3 separate regions of the Homo sapiens genome follow, and regions 2 and 3 are each linked to region 1. Evidence: promoter capture Hi-C in 16 types of primary human blood cells and fetal thymus (Javierre and others, 2016). All regions are on one chromosome and are shown on one strand. The core of a region is centred on a gene start or on the middle of the fragment in contact, and the rest is flanking DNA. Distances in the headings are between cores, read along the strand shown.

What was found. The method cuts DNA at HindIII sites, captures the fragments that hold promoters and counts their contacts. A CHiCAGO score of 5 or more calls a contact.
Region 2: a fragment that was not itself captured here is called in contact with the fragment with the promoter of CERS6 in region 1 in 1 of 17 cell types (M1 macrophages); the score reaches 5.3 in M1 macrophages.
Region 3: a fragment that was not itself captured here is called in contact with the fragment with the promoter of CERS6 in region 1 in 1 of 17 cell types (monocytes); the score reaches 7.2 in monocytes.

What each region holds. Positions count from the first base shown.
Region 1 is chr2:168,453,783-168,458,752 of GRCh38, reverse strand. It overlaps CERS6 (ceramide synthase 6), which reads right to left and starts at 2,481. Exons shown (of 10, transcript NM_203463.3): 1 at 2,135-2,481. The coding sequence starts at 2,304. It overlaps LOC102724081 (a long non-coding RNA gene), which reads left to right. Exons shown (of 4, transcript XR_002959433.2): 1 at 1-1,722. RefSeq lists silencers at 1,790-1,849, 2,300-2,429, 2,550-2,639, 2,670-2,889. The HindIII fragment of the contact is 1,842 bases long and covers 1,036-2,877 here.
Region 2 is chr2:169,088,737-169,093,706 of GRCh38, reverse strand. DHRS9 (dehydrogenase/reductase 9) reads right to left here. Exons shown (of 5, transcript NM_001376924.1): 4 at 1,754-1,917. Among named protein-coding and RNA genes, the nearest start is that of DHRS9, 22 kb to the right of the region's middle. The HindIII fragment of the contact is 1,518 bases long and covers 1,906-3,423 here.
Region 3 is chr2:169,071,158-169,076,127 of GRCh38, reverse strand. All of the region lies in intron 1 of DHRS9 (dehydrogenase/reductase 9), which reads right to left. Among named protein-coding and RNA genes, the nearest start is that of DHRS9, 4.1 kb to the right of the region's middle. The HindIII fragment of the contact is 4,011 bases long and covers 931-4,941 here.

The DNA.
Region 1 (4,970 bases), core at 1,232-3,731:
AAGTCAGTAGCATTCTGTGACATATGTGCCATATTGGATTATTATTCTGAACATTAACCATAAACTTTCACTTTCCATACAGGCCATTAAATCTCTTCTACTTAGATCAATGGCCTGAAGGAAACTGACCAACTCACTTTATATCAATATGAGGACATTTGCTGTGACTGACAATTGAAAGCAGCTCACCCCTCTATGTAAACTCTAAGTCGAGTCATGGGATTATGGAAAAAAAGAAAGAAAATAAAAAATGTTTAGAAAGAGGAAAAATGAACTTCCAGTTTTCAACTATCACATTAGTGTTTATCTTTTTAGAGGCAGAGACAATCTAAGTACAAAGCCATCTCCATTCTAACAACTTAATTTTTTTAAACACAGTGAACAGCCTGGAATCAGCATAGAGAAGGAGGATGTCAGGAAAATTCGGCTGTTTGTGCACAGATCATGCTTTTGTTCTCCAACACATAAGACTGCACATCTCTTTCAAATGCATTATCTATCTAAAAGTGAGCCCAGCCAGAATTTATCAGACACAATTTATCATAATTCAGCAATTGTGTGTAGATCCCCTACTATGTGCCAACATAGAGCAAACCTGCTATCCCTGAGTCTGCTTGTTTTTGGAGAGCCTGCAAAACTGTATAGAGTTCATATTTTCTGTAACCAAACATTTGCTCTAGAGGTAACTCTACACCTGCAAACACACCCATTTTTTCACAGCACTGCTGTGACTTTTTTGATCCTTTTTTGTATAGGATCAATGACACATCTGTATTAGATTCCAATAATTTAAACATAGGTCTTAAAGTCTGTTGCTTTGTGCATGTCAATTTCTGCAGGCGAACAGCTGACTTCGTTTTCAAGCAACAATACTGTCCGGTGAAAAATATACCTTCCTGAGACAAAAGATACTTTTTGTCCCCATGAAGCTTTGTTGCCTCGTCCAGCAGCAAATGACTCAAAAGACGCGTTCTGCCACCCTCAACAGTCGTTTTCAGGCAAAGAGGAACAGCAAATGAGGTACCAGCAAAAGCTTAAGAAACAAAACCAAGGTGAGTTGAAGGCGGGGAAGAAAGGCGGAGTGGAAGCGAGAAATGCAATCTAAACTCTACTTTGTGATCTAAGAAATTCAGCCTTTACTGATGAATTGGGCAGAGGAAGGGGAGGGTACAAGAAAGGGGAAGATAATATTTTCTGTTACGAAAAAAAAAGTGTGCTGCTGTCCTGGTTTTCTTTCAGTAGCACCCAGAGAATGCATGGCAGGCACAATCTAGTTTCGCGACGAAAACGAATTCCATGAGAATAACACAAGTTTGTATGTGACACAATGGAGATATCCAACCAAACCGAGGAACTATACAATTGCATGACAATTCCTCAAAATTTTAAGTGCCTTCGAGTACCAAAAAAGAAGTTTATGATTATTCACAGGACAGGGTTATCAGTTTAATATCACCATTTTGCAGGATGTGGACCCGTCCTGTCACATCCTCTTTTAAAGAAACCGCTAATAACCTGAAATGCTATTATCCCCTATTTGCCAGGACTGTGGGCCTGATAGTTTCACGGATAAAAACCAAACAGCGACCAGAAGCCAGGAAGTCCCTGGCGAATTCTTTTGAAGCACAACCCCTACAATCCGTGTGCCGGAGCATAAAGATTGAAGTGTGCGCGGTTCCTCCTCCCTCCGGGCCGCGCGTCCGGAACGTTCCTGGCTGTCAGGTGGGTGGCGCGGGCCCCGGCGGGAAGCCCTGCCTGGCAGCCTTGCGTGGCGCGCCGGCGGAGAGGGGCGAGCCCCGCGGAATGCGGCGGGTCCTGAGCCCGACCACCGCTCACCTTTGTTCGCCTGCCCTTGCCGGGAGGAGAGCAGGGCCCAGGAGGAGGGCAGGGGGCGACCCTAACGCTCCGCGGCTCCTCCCCGGCGCCCGGGAGGAAATCCGTGGCAAGCCAGACCCTTTCTGGCTCCCAGAAAGCCAGCGGGGCAGGGGGGTCAGCAACCCCTCCCCGAACACAAAGGTTGGGAGGCGTGAACGCGAGCGTTGGGGGCGCGGGGGCGTGCGCCAGAGAGCGCGCGAGTGTGTGCGCGCGTGTGTGTGCGCAGGGGGAGGGGAGGAGGGGCTTCAGCCCTTCTTACCTCTCGAAGATGAGCCGCACCATGAAGATACAGAAGGCCAGGGGAAAAGCGAGATAGAGGTCCTCAGCCTGCGGGAAGGTGGCCTCCTCCGTGTTCTTCAGGTCCGCCCAGGTGACATTGTGCGGGAGCCAAAACCTCTCGTTCCAGAACCAGGCTAAGATCCCTGCCATCTTGCTTTGTCCACTCCTGTCCTGCGGCACCCGCAGCCCGCCAAGCTCTCCACCGCGCAGGGCGCCCGGGGATGCGCGCCCGGCTGGCCCCGAGCCTGTGCCGCCGCCGCCGCTGCTCCCGCCCGCCGCCGCCGCCTCCTCCGCGGCCGCTGCTCTCGAAGGCTCGCGGCGAGCCCCGGTTCTCTCCTCCCTCTGGCCGCGCTGGGGAAAGGGGCCGCCTTGCCCGTCACATGGCAGCTCGGGCCGCCCGCCCTGATTGGCTCGTCTTCGCGTCAAACAGCGAGGCACACACGCGGCCAACTCGCCCACACCCGCAGGGCAGGGCGCAGTCGCTGCGCCCTGGGCGCAGGGGCACCGCTCCGGGGAGTGTCGCCCGCCCCTGCTCTCACCGCTCTTTCGCTTTGCGCTTAGGGCGACGACCTAAAGTCGACCCCCCAAATCCGCCCTAGCCCCCTGGCTGGCTCGCACATGCTCAGAATGCTGGCTCCTGCCCCGCTGGGGTTTCAGGGCTCTCAGTCCTCTTCCCGTGCGCCCGGAGGCGGTGGGTCAGCAGGTAGGGGCTGCCGCCAAGCTTCAGAACCAGCCCTGCTCCAGGAGGACAGCAAAAAAAAAAAAAGGGGGGGGGAGGGGGAGGGGTAAAGAGCAAAGGAGGAAGTGGGAGGGAAAGGATCCTCCACTCCCGCGCTTGGAGAGGCAGGGTGAAAAATCAGGAACTGAGGCAGGATGGTTTGGCAAGAGCCTTCTGCCTCTGCCCCACGCCTGCCTTTCCCCAATCTTTGACTTTCCGGTCTTTTATACTGCTGCTTCTCATCAAAGTAGCTCCCCCAGGGAACAAGCCCCCCTATATTGATTTATGAGGTGGTACAAAAAATTAGGCACTTAATTGCTATTTGATTATTAATTGCTACTTGATGACGATGATGATGATGATGATGATGATGATAGCAACTGCAGCGTTCTGTAAAACCACCCCTCTCAACTAACCTCTCTGAAAAGGCTGCTAGACCACATTTTGACCTGGCACATCATGAGAACCTCCACTGTGCTACTCGGCAGGCTCATTATTTCTGCCTTTTGAATCTAAAACCTTTAAGGCATTAGGCCTGTGAGGCCTAACCCAGGCACCTTCCCTCCCGCAATGCATTTCCCCATTGATACAGGAGCCATGTGTGAATTCATTCCATGGCCCATGTATACATGGTTCTGGGGCATTTTTGTTCATTTTTCTCACATTCATTTTCTGCCTGGTGCTGCCAGTAGGCTATACTAAACCTTTCCAGTGGGCATATAACCGCACACACACACACACACACACACACAGAGAGAGGGAGTTTCTTTTACTCTTCCCTCCCCTCTTTCCACTCTATCTCTTGAAAGTGAAACTGAAGAATGGCCTATACTGGTGCTTCCAATTTCTCTCCCCTCATTTTCTTTTGAACTTCCATTTGGACATTTGTCTCCTCTGCTGCATTGAAACTGCCCAAGGTCACCTGTGATCTTCATGCTGCTAAACACAAAGGTCAGTTCTTATCTTAGTCCAGGCTGCTTAGACTAGGTGGCTTAAACAGCAGAATTTATTCCTCACGGTTCTGGAGGCAGGGAAGTCCAAGATCAACATGCAGGCAGATCCAGTGTCTGGCAAGGATCCTCTTCCTGGTTTGAAAACAGCTGTTTTCTTGTGTATCCTCACATGGCAGAGAGCACAGAAAGAGGAAACACAGATTAGTGCCCTATCTTCTTATAAGGGCACTAATCCCATTCATGAAGGTTCTACCCTCATTAGCTAATTACCTCCCAAAGACTCTGTCTCTGAATACTATCACATTGGGAACTAGGATTTCAGCATATGAATTTTGGGGGACACACACATTCAGTTCATAGCAGTTCACAACACCTCTGTCAGTAGCATTTGGCCCAGTTGTCAGGTCGTGTGTCTTAAAACATTCTTGACTTGGCTTCCAGAAACCTCACTCTTCTGGGTTTCTTCCTCCTTCATGGCCATTTCTTCTCAGTCTCCTTCCTGGTTACTCCTCACTTTTCTAACCCCTAGAAGTTATAGTGGCCTAGGAGTCAGTCTTTTTTCCTCTTCACTTTTCTATCTGAATGTATTCATTTGGTGATTTTATCCAGTCTCGTGGCTTTTAATGACATCTGTATGCCCTCCAATGTCATGCTAATAGCTCCCATATTTATATCTCTAGCCATGAACTTTTTCCTGACCTTCTGACTCTTAAATCCACTGGCAATTTAACACCACCACTCAGATGTCTAAAAGCTATCTCATGACCAAACTATTAATCTTCCCCTTGAAATCTCTTCCTCCTGTAGTCTTGGCTCAAGCCAAAAATGTGGAGTCATTTTTTCCCCTTCTCTCTTTCTCTCATACCTCCTTTCCAATCCATCCCAAATCCCATCAGCACCATTTTAAAACCATAATCTCACCATCTCTCACCACCTCCCCTGCTACCATCTTGGTCCAAACAACCAATACTTCTAATTCACATTACTCCAGTAACCTCCCAACTCCCAGTTTCACCCTTTGCCCCTCTACAGTCTATTCTCAGCCAGTGTGATCCTATGCAAATTTGTCAGATCACCCCTGGGGTGAAAACCCTGCTTCTTCCTCATCCCTCCCAAGTGAAAGCCAAATTATTCCAATGACCTGT
Region 2 (4,970 bases), core at 1,415-3,914, 630 kb before region 1:
AAAACTGAGCTCAATGCCTTTTGGTATTTCTGAGACAGAACACATGAACCAGGAACCAAGCCAAAAATAATTGGAGATGGAAGTCAGTGATATATTCAAAGGCATTTAAAAAGTATCGGTATCAATATCAAACAGAGAAAGCTCTTTTAAATGAGGGGTTTTGTTTCTGAAGTATTAAGTTCCATCTTAGATGGAACCTACATAGAACCTTCAGAGTCAGGAACTGAAAAGTAGAGTATTTGATGGCAGTGGCTCTAAACCTATAGTGGCATGTCAGCACTAAGATGTTTGTAAGACCAGACATTTCAGTTGATATATAGATAATGTGTGTACCTCTGTGTGTGTGCATGTGTGTGTGTGTGCGTGTGTGTGTGTTTAGGGTAATGGTGGTTGGAGGAGTCAGTCATTTTAAAAACCTCTCCAGGTGGGTCTGACTTGGCTTTCAGCTCTGCCTTGAAAACTCCTGACCATGAACCTTGCCACAGTTGACAGTCTTACCAAGTCCACTGATTAAGAGGCCTGAGCACAGTTTGGAGGGAAAGAACTACCCATAGTTAGGTGGAACCCTGCTCAACTCAAAGCAGGAGGTCAGTGAGTACTTGAGGAATATCAAGTAAACTTTAACCGACCCAAGAAGTTTGTGGCGGAGGGGAAAGCCTGATAACAGGAGTGTAACCAAAGTCCTTAATGCCTTGTTCACATTATAGTGCCATGGCCAAGCATAAATGGCACGGTCAGGCTGCCTGGGTCCAAATCTAGCTCTTCCACTTACTGGTGGTACAATTTTGGTAAGTTATTCTCTATGCCTCTATTTCTATAAAATGAAGACGATAATAAGAGTTTTTTGGGGGATTTTAAATGAGTGTCCCTGTAAAGCACTTAGAATGGTGACAAGTACATAGTAAATATTTACTATTTGTTAGTTGTCATTATGTCATCTTTATTATTATTCTCCCATCTCTGACTCAATCTCTTGACCAGGAAGGCTCCTGGTGTCTTCCATCTTCTCCTCCATGTGTTCCTGCTCCAGAAAGTTTCCACCCAAGTAATTATTTCCTGTCCTTTCCTCTTATTCAAACCTGACCTGCCCCATTAGGGCTTAACCAGCCATGCTCTTTTCCTGGTCTAAATTCCCTGGGGAATTAGAAACCACACCATCTAGCACCATTTCTGGGCTGTTAGATTACACCTAAGAAGTAAAGGATTAATTTTATTGTGTGCTACATTATTTCATTGTTTTACATTCTCGCTTGGTTACTTCTTGTTGTCAACTAGGTTGTAAACTAAAGGTCAGAGGCTGAACCTTTTCCATCTTTTGTAACCACCATAAATCCTTAATGCCAAGTGTACAGCTGGTGCTTGAGGAAAAGAGGAGGTATGGCAAAGGTGAAGACCGTGGCTCGACTTGCCTTCCTGGGCTCAGGTCCAGGCATGACTAGGAGGTGTTGTGTAATCTTGAGCAGGACATTTCACTTTCTCAAGCCTCTGCTCATTACTCTAATAGTTTTTGAGGAGTAAATAATATAATTCATAAGACACTTAGCAGATAACTTGGCAGTTTGTAATTGCTCAGTAAATGTTTATAAACAGAAGCAAGAGATGACACTGAAATTAATAGGAGATCCCTGATCCATGGTTAAGATCCTTATTGGGGTATTACTCAGAACCTTGTTATTTCATCTGTATTTGAATCTCCTTCATGCTGTTCAGGACAAAGAATTCTAGAGGACATTGGCACCGCCCGGAAACTCACTTTTTTCAATGTAACCTTCTCCATATTGTTGTTTGATGTCTGGAGACAGCTGCTCCCAAATGGCGAGTTTTTTTTCAATTACCTTTACTGGATCTGCCAAGTTTGTTTTGAACAATCCTGGTTCAATGCATGAGACGTGCACACCAAAAGCTTTCATGTCCCGTCTGTGAAAAGAACCCATTGAAGATGTTTAATCCGGGTTTGTTTAGAAAATATTTGCTATTTGAGTGACTATTTTCTCACGAATCTTTTCATGGAATCACAGATTTGGGTGCATTTGAAAGAAATATCTTATTCTCTCTCCCTTTCATTTTGCAAGTGAGGAAACTGAGGTTCAGAGTGGTGAAGTGAGGACTAGTTAACGGCAGGACAGGAAAGGGATCTGGGTGGACACCACCCCCAGTCCACTGTTGTTCTTCCTAGAGTGTTCTCCACGCTCTCATCATTGACTAAGTGGACATTCAGGTTATGAACAGGTTTCTTATCAGTACTTAAACCACCTTATGGTGAAATGAACTAATGATAGCCTGGATGGACAAGTTCACCTCCATTCTAGCAACATAAGGAGATTGCAGCACAAATGAGGATGTGCTGAAGGACACAATACGATAATCCCTGATGTGACTAACCTGCTCCCTATGCTGTTGAGCAAGTTTTATTTTATTTTATTTTATTTTATTTTATTTTATTTTATTTTATTTTATTTTATTTTATTTTATTTTATTTTATATCATGCTGCAGCAGAAAACTAAAAGCCTACTCATTCCCTAGGCATCAAGGTTTTACAGGAATCATGGTGCCCCTTTCTTTAAAGCAAACCAATATACAGATGTTCCTGTGGGGTCACATCCTGATAAACTCATTGTAAGTTGAAAATATCCTATGTCAAAAAATGCATCTAATATACCTAACCTGTCAAACATCATGGCTTAGCCTAGCCTACATTAAACGTCCTCAGGACACTTACATTGGCCCACAATGGGGCAAAATCATCTGGCCACACAGTGCCCTGCAGCATAGCAGTTCTTTGCCCTGTGATTGCAACGGCTGACGGGGAGCTGGGGTTTACTGCCACTGCACAGCATCGCGAGAGAGTATTGTACATATTGCTGCTGGTAAAAGATCAAAATTCCAAATTCTAAGAAAAGTTTGTAATGCATGCATCTCACTTTCACACCATTGTAAAGTTGAAAAGTCATGTTTAACATTGCAAGTCAGGGACCACCTGTACAGCAAACCAGTATATGAATAGTCGTTTCCTAAATTTGATTTATTTTCCTACCAGGAATATATAATATAAGGAAGTATTTATTCATTTTATAAAACTCTTCACCATAAGATTTTTAAAAGCTCTATTAGTGGACTTAAAATGTAATTTATTTTTTCTTAGGTTCTGCTTTCTAGCAACGTTATTATTGTAAAGTTTGAAATATATTTTACTAAAAATGCAAGTTAGCTTGACCTTGAAATATTCTGTAAGGTATATGACTTGTACTAAAATTAAAAAAGATTATTTCCCAACTTACTTTTGTTTTATTCACCTGTTGCCCAATTTCCTCTAGATTGTGGAAGTAGCAGTGCCAAGAGGCTATTTAGGAAGACTTTTCTCCCCACCCACTCATAAAAATAACGTACTAGGGACAAGTGGCCTTACGCCCTCCAACTAAGCTTACCAGGTAAGTAAAAACCATATTAAATCAGTATGCATGCTGGGAAAATACAGTTTTAAGGAGCCCCAACCCTCTCTCAAATGGACTGCTGCCCCTAAACCCTCCTATATATAGAAATTGTGACGCTGACACTGGATTGTGGCGCACCTACATAACACCATTTAAAATACTAGTTCCATGATTCATTTAAGAAAAATACTCTTTATTGATTACTATTAGGCATGGCATACCTGCATGGCAAAGCTCACAAACCCTTCAGTTGAAATCTTTTTTAAAAGTGAGTAAATCTCTAATTACATATACTACAATTTTATTATGATACTGCTGGTTGTAGAGTGGAAACAAAGGTCAACCAAAGAGACCAATGGAGGTTTTTTTATGACCTTGCTACTCAAAGTGTGATCCCTGAACCATGGGCAGCACCTGGAGCTTGTTAGAAATGCAGGGTCTCAGGCTCCTCTCCAGATCCACTTAATCAAAATCTGCATTTTGAAAAGATCCCCAGGTGATTCAAATGCACATTAGTTTTTTGGAAGAATTGTTCCAATATTTTTGTGCTTATTTCCTAGGAGAATCAAACTTGGCAACCTGATCAAATGGCAAAATGAAGTTGCTCTATCTTTATTAATTTCAGTGGAGTAATTTTAACCTTTTATTAGTAAACTAAACCTAGGTCCATGGTATAAATCATAAACTCTAACATATGCCTTCAACAAATAATAGTCAAATAAATAAATGGATGAATCAAAGGAAAAACTATAACTAACTTTGTCTTCTCACTTGCCTATTGTGGCACCACTCAGCTGAATATCTTCCGCTTGCTTCTCTAGTCCTTTCCTCCACCCTCTGTCTGCATCATATCCTGGGAATCTTACCTGCACTAAGTATACTCTGGCTTCTGTTGAGTTCAGTCTATTGAAAGTGCCAGTGGGGGATCAGGAAAGAGGTGAGGGGGTCAGAGTAGTTATCCTCCTGTGGTGTCAACACTGGTTATTTTTATCCCTTAACTGAAAACAACAGCCTCTGCGTCTCCAGGTTCTGGAAACTGCCCTGTCTCCTTGTCCCTTCAGTCCTCTGAAGAGAAATACACCTACTGTCATTAGCCCCTAGATTGTATCCTTTGAGATTTCAGTAGATACCTCACACATGTTTATAAGTCCTTTAAGCATACTCTCTGCCTTTTACCCAGTTTTAATGTGCCACCATTTCCTGCCAGAATCTTGACTGAAAGAACCACTTGTACTTTAGGGGATTTGAACTGATGGTGATAAGTTCTGGTTCCAGGTAAGATGGATTAAGCACACTTCCCCCAGTCTCTCCCACGGAATGAAGCTATAAAGCTTGGACAGCATGCTTGGAGAAGCTATTTAAGAACTAATGGTTTTCTACTGAAGGTTTAAATAGGGTGGTACTGTTGTGTCTGCAACTGACAGTAAACCAATGGAGAAGCCTATTCTGATCTAGCCTTTCTATATGATTCCCTAAATATCTGACAAACTGACCAGTTGAATATAAATTCGCTGCCACTCTGAGCATCATGTATTAAG
Region 3 (4,970 bases), core at 1,687-4,186, 620 kb before region 1:
AATTAATATGCCATCTAATAAGTGTCAGACGAATGATGGAATTAGAATATCACCATTTGGCAACTGACATAGCAACAATGGTTTCAGGCAGGAATGATCAATGGATGCTAAAACTAGTGGGTCAAATTCCGATGACAGACAGTCATTATAGAATCTCAAAGAATCTCCCTGTCATATACTTTCAAATTAAAGAGAGAATAATGGTAATTTTATAGTGGAGAAATCTGACGGATACCACCTTAACCAAGTGATAAGGATTCACATCACTAGTTATGGAACAAACCAACATCGCATGCCCCCTGAGATGGCACACAGGGAAGGACACAACAGCTCTTCTGTGGAGCATCCAAAGCTAATTATGCATGGGGAAACATCTTCCAGTGCTTCTAAATATATGGCTGTACTCTTCAAAAACATCAAAGTCATGAAGTAAAAGAAATACTGAGGACCATTTCAGATCAAAGGAGACCAACGAGATACAACAACCAAATGCAATATGTGATCCTGGATCAAAATTTTTTTTTCTTTTTTCAGAAAGAACATTATTAGGCCAGCAAGTGAAATTTGAATAAGATCTTAAAATTTGATAAATAGTATTGCATTAATATTAATTTCCCAATTTTGATAATTATACTGTGATGATGTAGAACATGGCCTGCTTTTTAGGAAATACACACTGAAGTATTTAAAGAGTAAGGAGCATCATGTCTTCAACTTACTCTCAAACAGTTAAGAAAATAATAATGATATGTATATAAATAAACATTAAAACCACACATGCACCTATGTATATAGAGAGGAATGAGAAGGCAGATGTGGTAAAGTGTTAATATTTGAGGAATCTGGGTTGTCCTAGTCTCTAAATTTTTCAATAATTCTGAAATTATTTCAGAATAAAAAGTTAAAAATTTGGCAAAGGAAAGTAAAGCTTTTTTTTCTGTGAAAAGATTTTATTAGGCTACTTTGGATGTCATGCACAAAATAAGTAAGAACCCCAGACTTTTGGAGTGTAGTAACTTGTATACCACATTGCCTGTCATCTATGCTTTGGTAAGCTCACCTCTACAACTACCAAAGAAGAACGAAAGCTCAAATCTAAGTAGTTGGATTCCCTCTTTACTCCTTGTCCATTCTGCTTCCCCCTCAATCTCCACCTTTTCTATGCAAACCCATTTTTCCCTGGTGACAAGCAAAGAGGAAATTTTGCTGTTAAGAATGGACTCACATTAAAATGTATTGTCCTCATTAGGTACAGCTCTGGACTGAGGGTCATTTAGGCCTACAGTCTGAATCCTAGGGACTGCCAATGCTAACCTAGAGTTTTGCTACACTCTCCTTAACTCAAGTATTATTGCCCAGAAATGCTGGTTCAGATTCCTCTAGATCACTCGACTAAATCAACCACAAACACACACATATCTTTGACCTCTAGTAATATTTTAGCCACGATGCCAACTCTGAGCAGCAACCTGGGTCAGAGCCATGGGAACATGACCTATACACAAAGCTGATTGATGGCCAATTGGTTCATTGACCACTGAGAAATAAATTAGTAACAGCAACTAAAAGGCTAATAGGGCTACCTCAACCACACTACGCCAGCTGTGGTTACCTCTGCACGGCCCCTTGGTCCCAACAATTCAGAAACTCCAGGAACTGACCTGGTTGCTTGAGTTGTTTGCTTATCTGCTGTGTCTTCCAATTTATCGCACAACAAATTGCTTAATAGGGCGTAAATCTCTTGGCTCGAGGCAGTAGAGCAGTAGTTAGGAGCCCAGACCTCAGAAGCAAGCAGGCAGAGGTTCCATCCCAGTTTCACTATCATCAGAGGGCCCTCGGACAAATTAACTTTTCTTAGCCTCCATTTTCCTACCTGTAAAGTAGAAATACAACATCTACCTTGGAGAGTACTGGGTGAAGTGACCTAATGTCTGCCGTTACAGTAAGAACTTTGTTATCTTCATGGCAGGGTGAATCACTTTCACTTTATGAGGCAGTCTGCTCTATGTATTGCTCATATTTAGGCATTGATTCCTCTAACTGAGTAATTTTGATATTTTGGGCCAGGTAATTATTTGTTGTGGGGTCAGTCCTGTGCATTTAGCATGTTTAGTGGCATCTCTGGCCTCTACTCTCTAGTCAGCAGTAGCACCCCTCCCCAAGTTGTGAAAACCAAAAATGTCTCCAGATAATGCCAAATGTCCCCTGGAGGACAAAATATCCCCCAGTTTAGAACCACTGTTCTAGAACTTCCTAGTGTTGGGAGTCCAGAATATCATAGCACTAGAACTACTTTTCTGGAAACTTAGTCATTGGTTCCTTGGTAGTATCACATTGATGAGTTTCTTTTTTTAATGGCCTCATGGAAAAGTTGGGTTACTTATAAAAATTACTCATATCCTGCTGCTGCAAGCATTAATTTCCCTCTATATAAATATTTTAAAATGTCTTTTTGTCATCAGGAGGATAAGAGGCTGATATGGTTTGGCTCTGTGTCCTCACCCAAATCTCTTCATCCAATCACCTCCCATCTGTTCCCTCCCTCAAGGTTTACCCCATGCTGTTGACCCCCAGCTCCTCTGGGGGTACCCTTTGGTGGGTGGCCAACTGACCCTACAGAATTCAAAATATCCTCCTAGCAAATCTATGATTCTCAAGTTCCTGGTTGACCAAGTCAGGGAGGAATGATAATAACTGCTATGGTTCATTGAGTGCCTAACATGTTGTAGGCCGTTTCCTAGGATCTATAAATATTTATCTTATTTACACCTTACGACAAAATTATCTTCACTGTATAGAGGAGGAAACACATTCAGAAGCTCTGTTTAATTGGCTCCAGCTACAGTTGTAGTGGCAATTCCGGGACTGATACCCAGACCATTCTGTTCTACCACTGCAGTCTGTATTCCCACTCAACTCTGGGCTCTGCATATACTTCTCTACATTACCAGTTCCTTGTATGATACTTGGCATTATGTTGATGTTTAGTAAATGTTGTACAGCAAAGAAGGAAAAAAGGAAGGAAAGAAGGAAGTCTCCACTGTAGCTCCAGAGTTCTAGTGATAATTGGATTAATCTTTGAGACCTCTGAATCGCTGGGGCAAAAGGATGATAGCAATTATAATAATACATAATATTCACACTTCCAATTTTGATAACATTACAAAGTTTTGGGAAGTGTTTATGTAATATTTATCTCATGTAATTGTCAAGATATTTCTGGTGTAGAGTAGAGGTCATAACTATGGTCACTTGCCAGAGAGTGACCAGAACTAAAACTCTCTGAACTCTAAACTGTGTGAAAGAGAAGGAAGAACTGCAAAGAGATGAACACATTATCAGTCGACAGCAGGCACAAGAACACTTTATCAAACTTTCTCTACCATATCACAAAGATTCAAAAGAAACCAAGAAAGGAGAACTAGTTTTGTCTTTCATACACCATGCACAATGCTTTATAGTAACTGCCTGTCAGCAGCCAAAGGAAAATATTGCAACTCGAGCGCTCTCCTTGATCACTTCTGCTTTTCTTTTTCTTCCTGAGTTTGTTTTCCTAGTAAAAAAGTTAAAATAGGATTATTTAATTTCACTTCTCTTATTCACCTTCCTCTGTTTCTTAAAAATAAATGACACAGTTTAAAAAAAAGAACAGAAAATATCTCAATATTATTGTGAGGTATACTTTTTATAAGCAATGTAGAGTTCTTTCTAGATAGTTCCTCCCAGACCAGTTGATTTTATTTCCACATAACTTCATGAAGTGTTTCCTTTTAGAAAGCGATACCAAAGCTAGTCAACCACACTGTCAGGAGTTTGTAGAATCTTTATTTACTTCCAATGTGTTGCAATTGTGGCCCAAGTTGAATCAACAACTATGTTGTTTACCAAAATACATCAAATAGAAAACATTGAGCAATGATTTTCTAAAGTATTCTCTTTTTGGAGTTCTCTTGCATGGCTTTCTGAATACTGAAAGCCACTGAACATGTATGCCTCTTGTATATTTGAATATTGTAAACCCGGTTGACTTAACACAACATTCCTTTTTCATTTTTTCCTTTTCATTGAAGTAAAAAAAAACTGGTTTTTGTTTTGTTTTGTTTAAAAAAAAAAAAAAAACCCAGGTGGCTTTTAGAGATTTCTTCCACACTTAAAAAAAAATGAACACTGGAACCTATTGACATAAACTAAAAAATTATGTTTCTGTGAGAAATGTGTTCAAATGGTCCACCCAGAAATCTGAAAAAAAAATTTTTTAATGGCACCAAGGGACCCTACATTAAATGTGCTTGCATTAAGCAACGAATGCTTTTTTGAGAGTCTGACTGAAATAACAATTATAATAATTATTATGCTGCTGATGATATAGTTGAGTTGGTATTTATCGTCGTGGGAGGGTAAGTTCCCTTACTCAATGGATGAAGAAGCTCCTCCTCTGGTTAGTTACATTTGCCCTTGATTCCTGCTTCCCTGAGGGCAGGAGGTAATCCTTGGCAGCCAGACTGTGCTTTGGGTACTGGGACAGCGAGGCATGGAGTTCGTGTGTACTTCCACTACAGATTCACTCAGACAGCCTCCTCAGGATGTAGCTTCCCTCCCTCCTAGCAGAGGTGTACCAACTGCCTCAAATAGGGAAGATCTGCTGGATTTACATTTTGCATTTTTAGTTCTAAGGATAAAAGCATCTCTGATTTTCTTTTGCCTTCCTTCAAAACGTTTAAATTATAATTCACCATCACATCCCTAACTATTCATTAATTATCCCAAGTCCCTCCTAGGTTTATTATTTTGACAATGTTTCCTGACAGTATTAGCAGGTTACAAATTATTGTTAAAGCTATGATTACTTTATTTATGGTCACTGCATAACAATTGCTATCTGGGAAAGATTATATGTTGTGTACAGTTATCATTTGTAGTCACAAGGCTTTAAGGAAAGCTTAGAACATAGAACATATGTATAGGTTCCA